4 separate regions of the Homo sapiens genome follow, and all the other regions are linked to region 1. Evidence: promoter capture Hi-C in human tissues and cell types (Jung and others, 2019). All regions are on one chromosome and are shown on one strand. The core of a region is centred on a gene start or on the middle of the fragment in contact, and the rest is flanking DNA. Distances in the headings are between cores, read along the strand shown. Region 1 holds the start of LBX1 (ladybird homeobox 1). Region 2 overlaps LINC03046 (long intergenic non-protein coding RNA 3046). Region 3 overlaps BTRC (beta-transducin repeat containing E3 ubiquitin protein ligase). Region 4 overlaps BTRC (beta-transducin repeat containing E3 ubiquitin protein ligase).

Region 1 (3,107 bases), core at 371-2,870:
AAAGAACCTGCTTCCCGCCCCGGAGCCCAGCTTAGCTCACTCCCTCTCTGGGGTTAGATATGAGGGGAGAGGGGGCAAGAAATCCTAATCTTCCCATTCCAACCCTTGGCCTGGGCCACAAATCCTCACTTTGGCCTCTCTGGGCCCTTTTCTGGTCCAAGCGGTGCTGCCCAATGCCCAACCTCACCGCCCACCCAGGAGTTTACAAACAAAGCCAGGGCCAGGGCTGTGTGTGTGTGGGAGGGGAACAGCCCTTCTCCCTGGACTCCAACCCCCTCTAGGTCCTCCCCTCCTTTCTCCAAGGGCAGAAATGGAAAATTAGTAAGGAGGCCAGTGGCCCCACATAAACAGAATGGGGTAGCAAGACAGGAAGGCCTGAGGGCACAGCCCTGCTGGAATGCCTCAGGGAAATGAAAGAAATAGCTGAGTTCAAACACACCTATATACCCACAGGTTCACACACATTTACACAAATATACGCATGGAGAAACACACACAAACACACATTCAAAAACACAAACACCTTCAAGTAACAATGCACACAACATGTTCTCCCGATATTCACAGATCCCGGGCCCTAAGGTCTTTAGCCCCAGCCTAACTGGAAGCCTGGCCTCCCTGCGAGTTCCTGAGAGCAAAGCCCCAGCCGCGGCCTGGCTCCCGCCGGGCCCCCGCCCCGCATCCGGAACAGCTGGAGTCGGCCTGGCCATGCACTCAAGCCGGGCGCTGGGCTAGGCGGGGCCGGCAGCGGGGCCCCGGCCGGGGCCCGGGCGGAGCGCAGCAGGGAGGCACGGAGCCGGCCCCGTTAGCCCCGGCACCTGGCCTGGCTACTCTTCAGACGCCCATCATCAGGCCGTTGGTGGCCCCAGCCAGCCTGGGGAGCGGCTGCCGGAGGAAAGTGAGCAAGATTGCCGGAGGAGGTAGGGCGGCCGCTTCGGAATCAGGCCGGGGAGAGGCGTCCAGAGCCGCCAACAATTCCCTCCTCCGCCTCTCCGCGTGGAGAAGGCTGAGCTCTCCGACTAGCCCCCTCCCCCAACCCCTGGGGTCCTCCACCCCCTTCCCGCGTCGCCCACCCAAGGCTGCGCAGCCGGCTCTGACCTCCTGCGGGCCAGCGCAGGAGGGCTTCAGATTCCCTCTCCCCAGGCGCGTCGCCCAGGCAGTGGGGTGAGGGGCAAGAGGGTCAGAGGTAGAGGCGCTGGGCTCTTGATCTCAGCTCCGCAAAGTCCACTCTGGGTGGCAGCGGGGCCCACCCGGGCTCCTGGTCCTACCTGGCCCGAGCGGCGGCCGCGTCCCTCCCGGGCTGGGGTTCCCACCACTCTTTCGGGCTCCACATCCCGGGTCGGAGAGACCGAGACCTTCGGGCCGGTGCGGTCATTGCAGCTAGGCCGGCGGGAGGCGGGTGCGCCAGGAGCGCGGCTCGCAGTTTGGGGTGGGGGCGGTGGCTTTTCAGTCGCCCGAGGTTCGGGTGCAATAAAGGAGCAGCTAATGTAATTTACAAACAGCTCGGGCCGAACGCAGCGCAGCGCCCGGACTGACAGGCGCATTAGGCAGGCTAATTCCAGCCGGCTCCTCCTACCCCCGGCCCGCTAATTAATGAGCTTCCCAACTTACAGCCGCCTGCATTGGACAGACAGAGAGTGAAAGAGAGGGCGAGGGAGAGGGAGAGAAGGAGAGAGAAGGGGGGAGCAGAGAAGAGAGAAGAGAGAGGGAGGGAGGGAGAGCGAGAACAGGAGGAGAGAACAGAGGCAAAGAAGAGAGGAAAAAGGGAGAAAGGAGAGAGAAAGAGAAAGAAGTGCCGCTGCAGATAATTGATTACACCGCGATCAAGGCTAACTTGTTAGCAATAGTCAATTGCCCCGTCTCTCCGCCTCCCTCGCAGTCCGGGATCGGCGCCCTCGCCTCGGCTCTTCCAACTGCGGCCGCCAGGACCCGGGGCCAGGAGCCACTGCCGAGCCACCTGACACCTTTAAATAGCACCGGGGTTGGCGAAACTGGAGCCCCGCGCAGCGCGCCCCGGCTCCGGCCCCGGATTGCTGGAAGCCCCAGCAGCAGCGGCGCCCGCGTCAGCGCCCTCTTCCCGGGGCCCCGCGCTGTTCTCCCCTCCTCAGCCGCCGCGCTAATCGGCCCCGCGCCCGGCCCGCGCCCTGCCCAGTGCGGCCTCCTTTCCACCCGCCGCTGCCTGCCCGCGCCGTCCGGCGCCCGAGCTGCCCGCGGGCTGGGTCCCCGCGGCCCGAGCCGCCCCGGCCGGGACCCCGAACAAGGCCGAGATGACTTCCAAGGAGGACGGCAAGGCGGCGCCGGGGGAGGAGCGGCGGCGCAGCCCGCTGGACCACCTGCCTCCGCCTGCCAACTCCAACAAGCCACTGACGCCGTTCAGCATCGAGGACATCCTCAACAAGCCGTCTGTGCGGAGAAGTTACTCGCTGTGCGGGGCGGCGCACCTGCTGGCCGCCGCGGACAAGCACGCGCAGGGCGGCTTGCCCCTGGCGGGCCGCGCGCTGCTCTCGCAGACCTCGCCGCTGTGCGCGCTGGAGGAGCTCGCCAGCAAGACGTTTAAGGGGCTGGAGGTCAGCGTTCTGCAGGCAGCCGAAGGTAGGCGCAGCTGCTGGGTTCCCCTGCACCCAGCGCCTCGCGCCCTGTGCCCTGCGCGCTTCGTCCCCTATGCCTCTGCTCGCCTCTGCCCTCTCCGGCCGCCAGGGCCTTCCAGCCTGAGCAGCTGCTTATGGGAGTGAAGATATGTGGGACGGGACCCAATCCTTATTTCCCAGGGACCTCTGGGTAGGCCAGAGCTGGGGGGTGGCAGGAGAAGGGTGGCCAAGCTCTTTCCGCAGTCTGCTTGCTTTGCCGGGCTCCCTTGCGTTCCCAGTGTCCTGGGCGCTCTTAGCCCGGCTACTCGGCGTGGGGAATCGAGAGTCTTTTGCCGGGGACCTTATGGGTAGGGTAGAGTTGAAGTGATTGGGAAGGGATGGAGAACCAACATTCACACCGCAATTAGGGTGTCTCTGTCTGGCTTTCTCATACCCTTAGAGACTTTGGGTCTTTCAAACCAACTCTTAGGTAGGGGGCAGAGACCAAAACAATTTTTCCTAGGGACTTCTGGGAGACCA
Region 2 (3,107 bases), core at 305-2,804, 470 kb before region 1:
AATTTTGTATTTAACCTGGCACTTTCTTCCAGAAAAACTAAAGATGCTTGGGAGCAAATTTTTTCTAGAACTTAATTCTCATTATTTTCTTGGAAAAGAACTCATAAGGTCATATTTGTACATATTCTATCTTAGTGGTGACTGATTATTTACTTATACTTTTAAAAAGAACCTAGAATCTGAAGGCAAGGTAAGAAATCCCCAGTGATCATGAAAATTTCACAAGGTTTTGTGGTTCCCTTCATCTTCAAGTTTTTTTTTATCTTCTATCATCTGTTACCAAATGACTCAGTCTTCTGACTGGCAGAGACCAGAAAAATCACAAAACCTTTTTTTTTTTTTTTTTTTTTGGAGAAGGTCTGTCTCCCAGGCTGGAGTGCAGTGGCATGATCTCAACTCACTGCAACCTCCACCTCCCAAGGGTCAAGCGATTCTCCTGCCTCAGCCTCCTGAGTAGCTGGAATTACAGGCGCCTATCACCATGCCCAGATAATTTTTATATTTTTAGTAGAGACGGGGTTTCACCATGTTGGCCAGGCTGGTCTCAAACTCCTGACCTCAAGTGATCTGCCTGCCTTGGCCTCCCAAAGTGCTTGGATTACAGGTGTGAGTCACCACGCCCGGCTTAGAAAAATCACAAAATCTGATGTCACATGGCAATGGCAATACAAGAATTTAATCTTAGATCTGAATGCTGATGGTATGCTCTATATTTTATTCAAAATCTCTTGGAATGTACACTGTTGACACAAAGAAGGCCATTGCCTACTAATAACAGCATTACTAACTGGCAAAACCCCTGGAGATCTGTTTTTTTTCCCCCCAGAAAAATTACATTGTATATTTCTATCCTGCCCACCTGCCCACCTCCTTACTTACTCTACTGTTCATTATAGACATATGGTCCTTAACTTTTGTAGACATAGCTATACATTTACATACCATATATTTAAATGCATACACATATATAATTTATATAAAAATTAGTGATGGGAAATGTCTGTTTTTCTCAGTTATAAAATTAGGACAGTGTCTTGGAATGATGTTATGTGACCCTTTGGAAAACATCTTACAGCTGTTGTCCAGGCTGGAGCATAGTGGCGGGATCATAGCTCATGTAACCTCCAACTCCTGGGCTCCAGTAATCCTCCAGCCTCAGCCTCCTGAGTAGCTGGGATTACAGGTGCCCACTACCACACCTGGCTAATTTTTGTATTTTTTGTAGAGATGGGGTTTCACCATGTTGGCCAGGGTGGTTTTGAACTCCTGACCTCAAGTGATATGCCCTCCTCAGCCCCACAACGTGCTGGGATTACAGGTATGAGCCACCACGCCCATTCTAAGATGAAACTTTAAAAAACTTTTTTAGAACAGTTTTAGATTTACAGAAATATTGTGAAGATAGTAGAGCGTTTCCATAGACCCCTATTATCACATTTTACAATATTATGATTGTTATTATTAACAAACCGATCCAATTTCCTTAGTTTTTATCTAATGTCCTTTTTCTTTTCTGTTCCAGGATCCCATCCAGAATACATTACCTTTAGTCATCATGTCTCCTGTGGCTCTTCTTGGCTGTGACAGTTTCTCAGCTTTCCCAGTTTTAATGAACTTGCCATTTTCATCAGATTGTACCAAGACCTACTATCAATATGACTTATGACTAGTGGTGCTGACCTTGATCACCTGGCTGAGGTAGTTCTTGTCAGGCTTCTCCACTGTCGAGTTGCTCTCCCCATCCCCCTTTTCCATATTGTACTCTTTGAAAGAAAGTCACTATATGCAGCCCTTCCTTAAAAATATTAAAATGAACTAGCTTAATTAAGTTCTTTCTTACATTTAGGTGTAAATACCTCTGAGGTTTTTTTCTTTTAAAAAATGATTATCTATGTAATACATACTCACTGCACAAGACTTTAAAAATGCAAGAAAAGTATAAAGCAGCAGCAAATAGAACTACCCATAATTCCATCTGTCACAAGCAACCATTTCTAGCTTTTTGTCATATTTCCTTCCAGTTTTTTTTCTTCTGCATAAAATAACTATTTTTATTTCTATTTATTTATTTTTTTGAGACAGAGTTTCACTCTGTCACCAGGCTGGAGTGCCGTGGCACAATCTCGGTTCTCTACAACCTCCACCTCCCAGGTTCAAGGGATTCTCCTGCCTCAGCCTCCTGAGTAGCTGGGACTACAGGCGTGCACCACCATGCCCAGCTAATTTTTGTATTTTTAGTAGAGACGGGGTTTCACCATGTTGGCCAGGATGGTCTTGATCTCTTGACCTTGTGATCCACCCGCCTCGGCCTCCCAAAGTGCTGGGATTACAGGCATGAGCCATCGCGCCTGGCCAAAATAACTATTTTTAAATAGCACTTGCTTGAAATTATTTCATAGGTGGTAAAAATATTTTATCTTTGAATATGGCAAAGAAGATGGATTCATATAAAACCAGAGCAGATCTTGGTGGTACTTCAAGATATAAACTACCAACCCAATAGATAATTTCTGAAAATAACATTTTAGAGTCTCTTCCTCTATTTTTGAGAAGCTTGAATATTTACAAATACAGCATTCACTGTGAGACTTCTTGTTTCTTTTCCTTTCTAAGACTTTTAACTTGTTGTTTATTTTACTATTACATGAAACACATTTTATTTTAATTTTTAAAGTTTTAGTGTTTTTTGAGACAAGGTCTCATTCTGTTGCCCAGTTTGGAGTGCAGTGGCATGAACATGGCTCACTGCAGCCTCAACTTTTTGGGCTCAAGTAATCCTCTAGCTTCAGCTTCACGAGTAGCTGGGACTACAGGTATACACCACCACACCTACCTAATTTATTCTTACAGTTTTTAGAGACGGGGGTCTCGCTGTGTTGCCCAGGCTGGTCTTGAACTCCTGGGCTCAAGCAATCTTCCTGCCTCAGCCTCCCAAAGTGCTGGGATTACAGGGATGAGTCACCATACCCAGCCTTATTTAAATAAGGTTTGAGGAAACTTGGGTAGCTGGTTAAAACTCTGGCAATGATCTAGGTTTCAAATCATCAAATTCCTTTTTGCATGGTGTATAGACTCATGACAACTCTTATTTTTTTAAAGACTTTATT
Region 3 (3,107 bases), core at 403-2,902, 300 kb before region 1:
ACTTTCTAGAAATAATGCTTAGAGTTTATGCTTTAGACTGCGCTATGAATGTGGTCACTCTTGCTCCCTCTGCTACCTTTCTACAACTGAATAGACCTCACCTTGATTGTGTTGTCTCGAAGGCCGCTTACTATTTTCTGATCATCATACTGTAAACAGTAAACTCCTTTGCTTGTTTCACTTCGGCAGTGAATTCTCTGTAAACTATGTCTTCCACATCTCCAATTAGATTCTATTGTCTGAGAAGAAGGAATGGGAAAGAGGCAGTGTTAGGAAACACCTAGAATCAAACTCTTTTTAGGCTTTAATGACAATCAATGGCTCAATGCTTTACTCTATGGGATATACACAACTTAGGGAAAACTAAAAAATGTCTTTAAAAGGCTACTATCTATATTTATAAAATATTCTTCCTTTTGCAAGGTAATTAAAGGTTGTTTCCTAGAACTTCCCTGCCTATAATTTGTTCAATTAAATAATAAATCTGGTGGAAAGAGACTACTCATCAAGAGAAGAAAAGCTACGAACTACGTGAGGTTATACACTCAGTGCTCTTACATATGTGATGGCCATTGCTACTGATTGCTACTGATGAACTTCTAAGGAGGTTCAATTCAGAAGATATTTAAATATGAGCTTATGAGTACAAGTTTACCAGTCACACTGCTATGTATGAAGGGATCAATCTCTTTAACTCTCTCATCTACTTATTAGTAAACCATTTTTTAAAGCTTTAAAATTTTGCCTAGCAATTTATTTTACCTACCCTACTCGCCTGTAAAGAGATTGATTTTCTTTTCCTTTTCTTTTTTTTTGATGGAGTCTCGCTCTGTCGTTCAGGAGGGAGTGCAGTGGTGCGATCTTGGCTCACTGCAACATGTGCCTCCCAGGTTCAAGTGATTCTCCTATCTCAGCCTCCTGAGTAGCTGGAATTACAGGTGTGTGCCACCATGCCTGGCTAATTTTTGTATTTTTAGTAGAGACAGGGGTCTCACCATGTTAGCCAGGCTGGTCTCAAACTCCTGACCTCAGCCTCCAAAAATGCTGGGATTACAGGTGTGAGCCACCATGGCCAGCTAAGAGATTGATTCCCAACTCATGTCAATAAACCTTAATGGGCTTGCTGTAACCATACTGTGACTGAAGAATGCTGATAATTCTGTGCCCTTGGGCAATACCCCAAAATACATAGATTCTTACCTCAATGTCTTGTATAATTTTAGGATAAAGTGCTCTATAAAAAGAGTTGGGAGGAGCATTCCCGTCAGGAGGTTTGTTTTTGAATAAATACTGTCCCCTAAAAAATAACAAATATTTCCCAGTGAAAATCATGACATTATATATTTAAATACATATATATTTTGAGACAGAGTCTCGCTCTGTTGCCCAGGCTGGAGTGCAGCAGTGTGATGTTGGCTCACTGCAACCTCCGCTTCCTGGGTTCAAGTGATTCTCCTGCCTCAGCCTCCTGAGTAGCTGTGATTACAGTCATCTGCCACCATGCTGGCTAATTTTTGTATTTTAGTAGAGATGGGGTTTCACCATGTTGGTCAGGCTGGTCTTGAACTCCTGGCCTCAAATGACCCGCCTGCTTGGCCTCCCAAAGTGCTGGGATTACAGGCGTGAGCCATCACACCCGGCCGACATTATATATTTATAAGGAACTTCATATATTTTGAAAGTGTTTTCACGGTTACCATTCCATATACTCTCCATAGCTGTCTGCGGAGGAGCAAAGGTAAGCCTGATTTCAGGAGTCCCATGTCAAAGAGTAACCTTCTGGGCTCTAAAGAATCTGACCAACACTGATTTGCTTTTGGGTAAAACATGATTATTTCCAGTGTAGAACATCGGAGTACCAAGCCTTTAGGAATATTATAATATCAGTAAACAAATGGAATATGTACAATCAGAATTCATCTATTGCTCTATTAAGACTACTGCTTAGATTCACTGGCCTCATCTTTTGGAAATTTTGTTAGTAATGGTAACTATTACCTTTGAACTAGCACATGCCCTATAGGTTTTTTTTTTTTTCCCTTTTACTGTGTCAGTGGTCCCCAGCATTGTAGACAGCAGCAATGCCTCTGGCATGGAGATCACTTTTGCTAGGTCTTTATTTGTACAGGGTAAGGTGTGGTGGCTGCTCAGTCACCCAGGCTGCTGCTAATCAGTGCAACTATGCTTTGAAAGGAGCAATTCAGTTCATTTCATCAGAAAACAAAAGGATCACAGGTGTGTCCAGCAGCAGCTAGGGAAGAAGAAAAAAAAGAAATGCCTAAGAGCACTGCTATCAAGTCTAAGGCATGAAACTGACTTTCACAGGTGTGTTCCTGGCTGTGTACATACACATGTACTTAACTGCCTTCCCTGATTCCAGTGAGCAACATTTGTTAGTATCTCCTTCCTTATGACAGCACATCTCTGGAATACTCGTATCCCAAGCTAGATCTTTGCTACAAAAAAAAAATCAGTAAATGGCAATCACTTCCTGCTGGGTAAAAAATTTAATTCCTCATCCGGAAGTTAAGAACCCACCAAACACGGTGTGGAAGCTAGTAAACCCCACTATGGGTGTACTAACTGCTGTTCTCACTGGCACCGTGCCTTGCAAAGTGGAGAGAGGCAGAAATGCCTCTGAGTGTAATCCTGGCACCAGAGAAATCATGTTTTCTCTGGGCCAGTCATCCACTCCTCCCTCTATAGCTCCATTACAATATAATTAATTGTTTGGTGTCTCCAGGAGTGTTTCTCCCCTGCCCTCTCCCTGTTATATACCCTGAAAATTAGTTGAGAAAATTTCCTATCAGGAAGGTAGATGGCTCTAACTTCTGTGTTAATACAGAAAAGAAAATCTGAAATAGAGAAGTGAAAATAATACTTATAAAAAGGGGGATTAATGAAACATGATACACCAGCATAAACAAAAGGGGAAACAAGATGCGTTATGAAAGAATTCCAGATTAATGGTACATTTCTCTGTACAATATTATTCTACAAACACTTTGCAGGCAAATAATAGATTTTGAATGTGAAGATTTTAAGTCTGACTCCTGAGCCCACCCACATTCTTAACTACTTTATTGTTTCTCAATGCCCACCATTCC
Region 4 (3,107 bases), core at 379-2,878, 280 kb before region 1:
GCTAAAACTTAATAACTTCACCCCCTGGCAAATTGTAAGATAAATATAATAGGAGAAACTCTGACAGTAAAAACCTGCCAGAAATGAGCGCTGTGTTTATGTTTCTTTGCAGGCAGCAAAAAATCAACCGACAGCTTATTACTGGTTGCGTGTTACTTATATTTAAAAGACTCCAGGCAGTTAACTTTCTACGTACTGTTAAAACTTTGCTCACAAGATGGGAAAAAATGGGAAAAAAGCCCCAGTGATACAGACTTGGGGAAGTAAGAGAAGAAAAAACAGGGAGAAGGGCAATGCAAGGAAACAAGTACATTGTATAAAATCTTTTAAAATGTCGTGGTTATCTTATTAAATGTTCAGTCAGCATATATAGGCATAAAATCCTTCAAAAAATAATTCTGGATTCCTAAGACATGGTATGAACTATATCTAGGAGCAAAGCAAGAGAATTTTGCTCACTCAAATTTTTTCAGAGACCCTGAGTCCATGCCTGAAGAATTCAATTAACTGCAGAATTCCTAGATCTCTTTTCAAAAACCCCTGCAGCTAGAAAAGCATTCACTAACTACATAATTTAACCCTTTGTGAAACAATGAGTACACTATAGCTAGGAAATAAGTAAACTTCAGTTGTTTAGAGCACTTCATCTAGCCTTGCCATCCACCTTGCATACCTAGGGTTAGTCAACTGAGATTGAAATAGTCTGCTGAAAGATTTCCTTTCAGTCAATTTTGAATCTGAGCTTGGAATTTTAACATTTAACTATGGCAGAGTTGGCATCTTGGCTTGGTACAGCATGACTGTTACACTTTTTATAACCAACACTACCAAGGACAATAAACAAGGTATATAATAGAACTGCTGCTCATCAATGCCTGTCCTCCCCACCCCCAAGACTGATAACAGGGCTGAAAACAAATCTGTATAAAAATTGCCAAGTCTATCAGACTGAACACTCTAATATTGAAATATTACAAAAAAACATGAGCTAAATTTTGGGAGGACAGAGAAAGGCAGGAAAGGTCTTATAGGACTTAGAGTTGAAGCCTAACTTGAGCAACTGTATTTAACATTCACCATGTGCTACAATAGTGCCAATGAGCTGATGGCTTCATGCTTCAGTTCAAAGGGCCACCCATTTTGAAAGGTAAAAAAATTTGGAAAACTAGCCAGGCGCGAAAACTACAGGTGGCTCACGCCTGTAACCCCAGCACTTTGGGAGGCTGAGGCGGCGGATCACCTGAGGTTGGGAGTTCGAGATCAGCCTGACCAACATGGTGAAACCCCGTCTCTACTAAAAATAGAAAAATTAGCAGTGCATGGTGGCCGGCACCGGTAGTCCCAGCTAATGGGAGGCTGAGGCAGGAGAATTGCTTGAATCCTGGAGGCGGAGGTTGCAGTGAGCTGAGATTGTGCCACTGCACTCCAGCCTGGGCGACACAGCGAGACTCCGTCTCAAAAAAAAAAAAAAATTGGAAAACTGAACATCAAAATAGCAAACCAAATTCATCTTCAAAAAGGATCAAATCTGAGTCATTTTGTTTTCACTTTGATTAAATAAAGATCTATGGGGGGGGTCAAGCAAAGAATGTTTAATTCATTTTCTAAAAATAGCATTTACAGTAGACACATTTTAGTAAATATGAAAAATTCAGATACACAAAAAACATGGAAATTGCCCATAATTTCAACTATCAACAAAGACATAATGTTCACATTTTGGTGGGTATATTTGTTTTTTTATTATTATTTTTTTTTTTTTATTTTTTTGAGACGGAGTCTCGCTCTGTCGCCCAGGTTGGAGTGCAGTGGCACAATCTCTGCTCACTGCAAGCTCCACCTCCTAGGTTCACGCCATTCTCCTGCCTCAGCTTCCTGAGCAGCTGGGACTACAGGCGCCTGCCACCACGCCCGGCTAATTTTTTTGAATTTTTAGTAGAGACGGGGTTTCACCGTGTTAACCAGGATGGTCTTGATCTCCTGACCTCATGATCCGCCCGCCTCGGCCTCCCAGAGTGCTGGGATTACAGGCGTAAGCCACCGCGCCCGGCCATCTTTCTGTTTATTTAAAAATGTATTAGTCAACGGCCAGGCATGGTGGCTCATGCCTGTAATCCCAGCACTTTGGGAGGCTGAGGCAGGCGGATCACTTAAGGTCAAGAGTCTTAGACCAGCCTGGCCAACATGGTGAAACCTCGTGTCTACTAAAAAATATATATATATATATATATACATATACATATATATATACATATATATACACATATATATATATAAATATATACTCAGGTGCAGTGGTGCACGCCTGTAATCCCAGCTACTTGGGAGGCTGAGGCAGGAGGATTGCTTGAACACGGGAGGCAGAAGTTGCAGTGAGCTGAGATTGTACCACTGCACTCCAGCCTGGGTGACAGAGTAAGACTTCATCTCAAAAAGAAAACAAAATTTTTTTAAAATTTATTAGTCAAATATTTGAAGAATATGGGGGAGGGGGAGTGTATCTGTGCCATCTAGAGAATTCTTTGTTCATAATATCAAATTGATCAGAGCAAGCAAAATTAATCTTTGCTGTTAGAGAAGTCAAGATCTGATCCTGGAGGACAGAGAATTATAGGTTATTGTGATGAGGGGAGCTGAAAGGAGGGGAGGAAAGAGGAGAAAAGAAAGAGAGTCAAAGGGAGAGAAAGTGAGGAGAGAAAGAAAAGGGAAATGGAAGGGGGAAAATGGGAAAGCAGAAGGAGGAACGCAAGGAGAGGAAGGGCTAGGGCTAGAGAAGAGGGTAGAAGAGGAAGAGGAATGACAAAAGTGACCGAGGATTGGGGAAAGGACAGTGGATACTAGGCAGTGGGGTTGGTGAGAGATGGGATAAGGATGAAGGAAGAGGGATAAGCAGGTCTAGGGGAAAGATAGGGATGGGGAGAGATGATGAGCTGGGGAAGAGATGGAGGGAGATGGCTACAGGAGAGATGAAGTGAGAAATAGGTGGGAAGGGGGAGAATGAATATAACCAAATGCAAAAGGGACCCAGCATTACCAAGCTCACCTGCTCTAAGAGGAGCAATATGCTTGTTGGACAAACATCCTCTCCCACACAATAAACATCAAGA

What was found. The method cuts DNA at HindIII sites, captures the fragments that hold promoters and counts their contacts. A contact is called where the count stands out against the background at its distance.
Region 2: a fragment that was not itself captured here is called in contact with the fragment with the promoter of LBX1 in region 1 in 1 of the 25 tissues and cell types used here (dorsolateral prefrontal cortex).
Region 3: a contact is called between a fragment that was not itself captured here and the fragment with the promoter of LBX1 in region 1, in 3 of the 25 tissues and cell types used here (IMR-90 fibroblasts, dorsolateral prefrontal cortex and spleen).
Region 4: a fragment that was not itself captured here is called in contact with the fragment with the promoter of LBX1 in region 1 in 4 of the 25 tissues and cell types used here (lymphoblastoid cells, mesenchymal stem cells, pancreas and 1 more).

Annotation. Positions count from the first base shown.
Region 1 is chr10:101,227,976-101,231,082 of GRCh38, reverse strand. It overlaps LBX1 (ladybird homeobox 1), which reads left to right and starts at 1,620. Exons shown (of 2, transcript NM_006562.5): 1 at 1,620-2,592. The coding sequence starts at 2,268. It overlaps LBX1-AS1 (LBX1 antisense RNA 1), which reads right to left and starts at 1,489. Exons shown (of 3, transcript NR_029380.1): 1 at 1,269-1,489. The HindIII fragment of the contact is 30,882 bases long and covers 1-3,107 here.
Region 2 is chr10:101,700,711-101,703,817 of GRCh38, reverse strand. It overlaps LINC03046 (long intergenic non-protein coding RNA 3046), which reads left to right. Exons shown (of 3, transcript NR_186546.1): 3 at 1,523-1,841. Among named protein-coding and RNA genes, the nearest start is that of FBXW4, 7.1 kb to the right of the region's middle. The HindIII fragment of the contact is 4,281 bases long and covers 1-3,107 here.
Region 3 is chr10:101,529,427-101,532,533 of GRCh38, reverse strand. It overlaps BTRC (beta-transducin repeat containing E3 ubiquitin protein ligase), which reads right to left. Exons shown (of 15, transcript NM_033637.4): 7 at 1,201-1,297; 8 at 102-239. Among named protein-coding and RNA genes, the nearest start is that of POLL, 57 kb to the left of the region's middle. The HindIII fragment of the contact is 3,559 bases long and covers 1-3,107 here.
Region 4 is chr10:101,504,283-101,507,389 of GRCh38, reverse strand. The region is part of intron 4 of BTRC (beta-transducin repeat containing E3 ubiquitin protein ligase); the gene reads right to left. Among named protein-coding and RNA genes, the nearest start is that of POLL, 82 kb to the left of the region's middle. RefSeq lists an enhancer at 1-498. The HindIII fragment of the contact is 4,822 bases long and covers 1-3,107 here.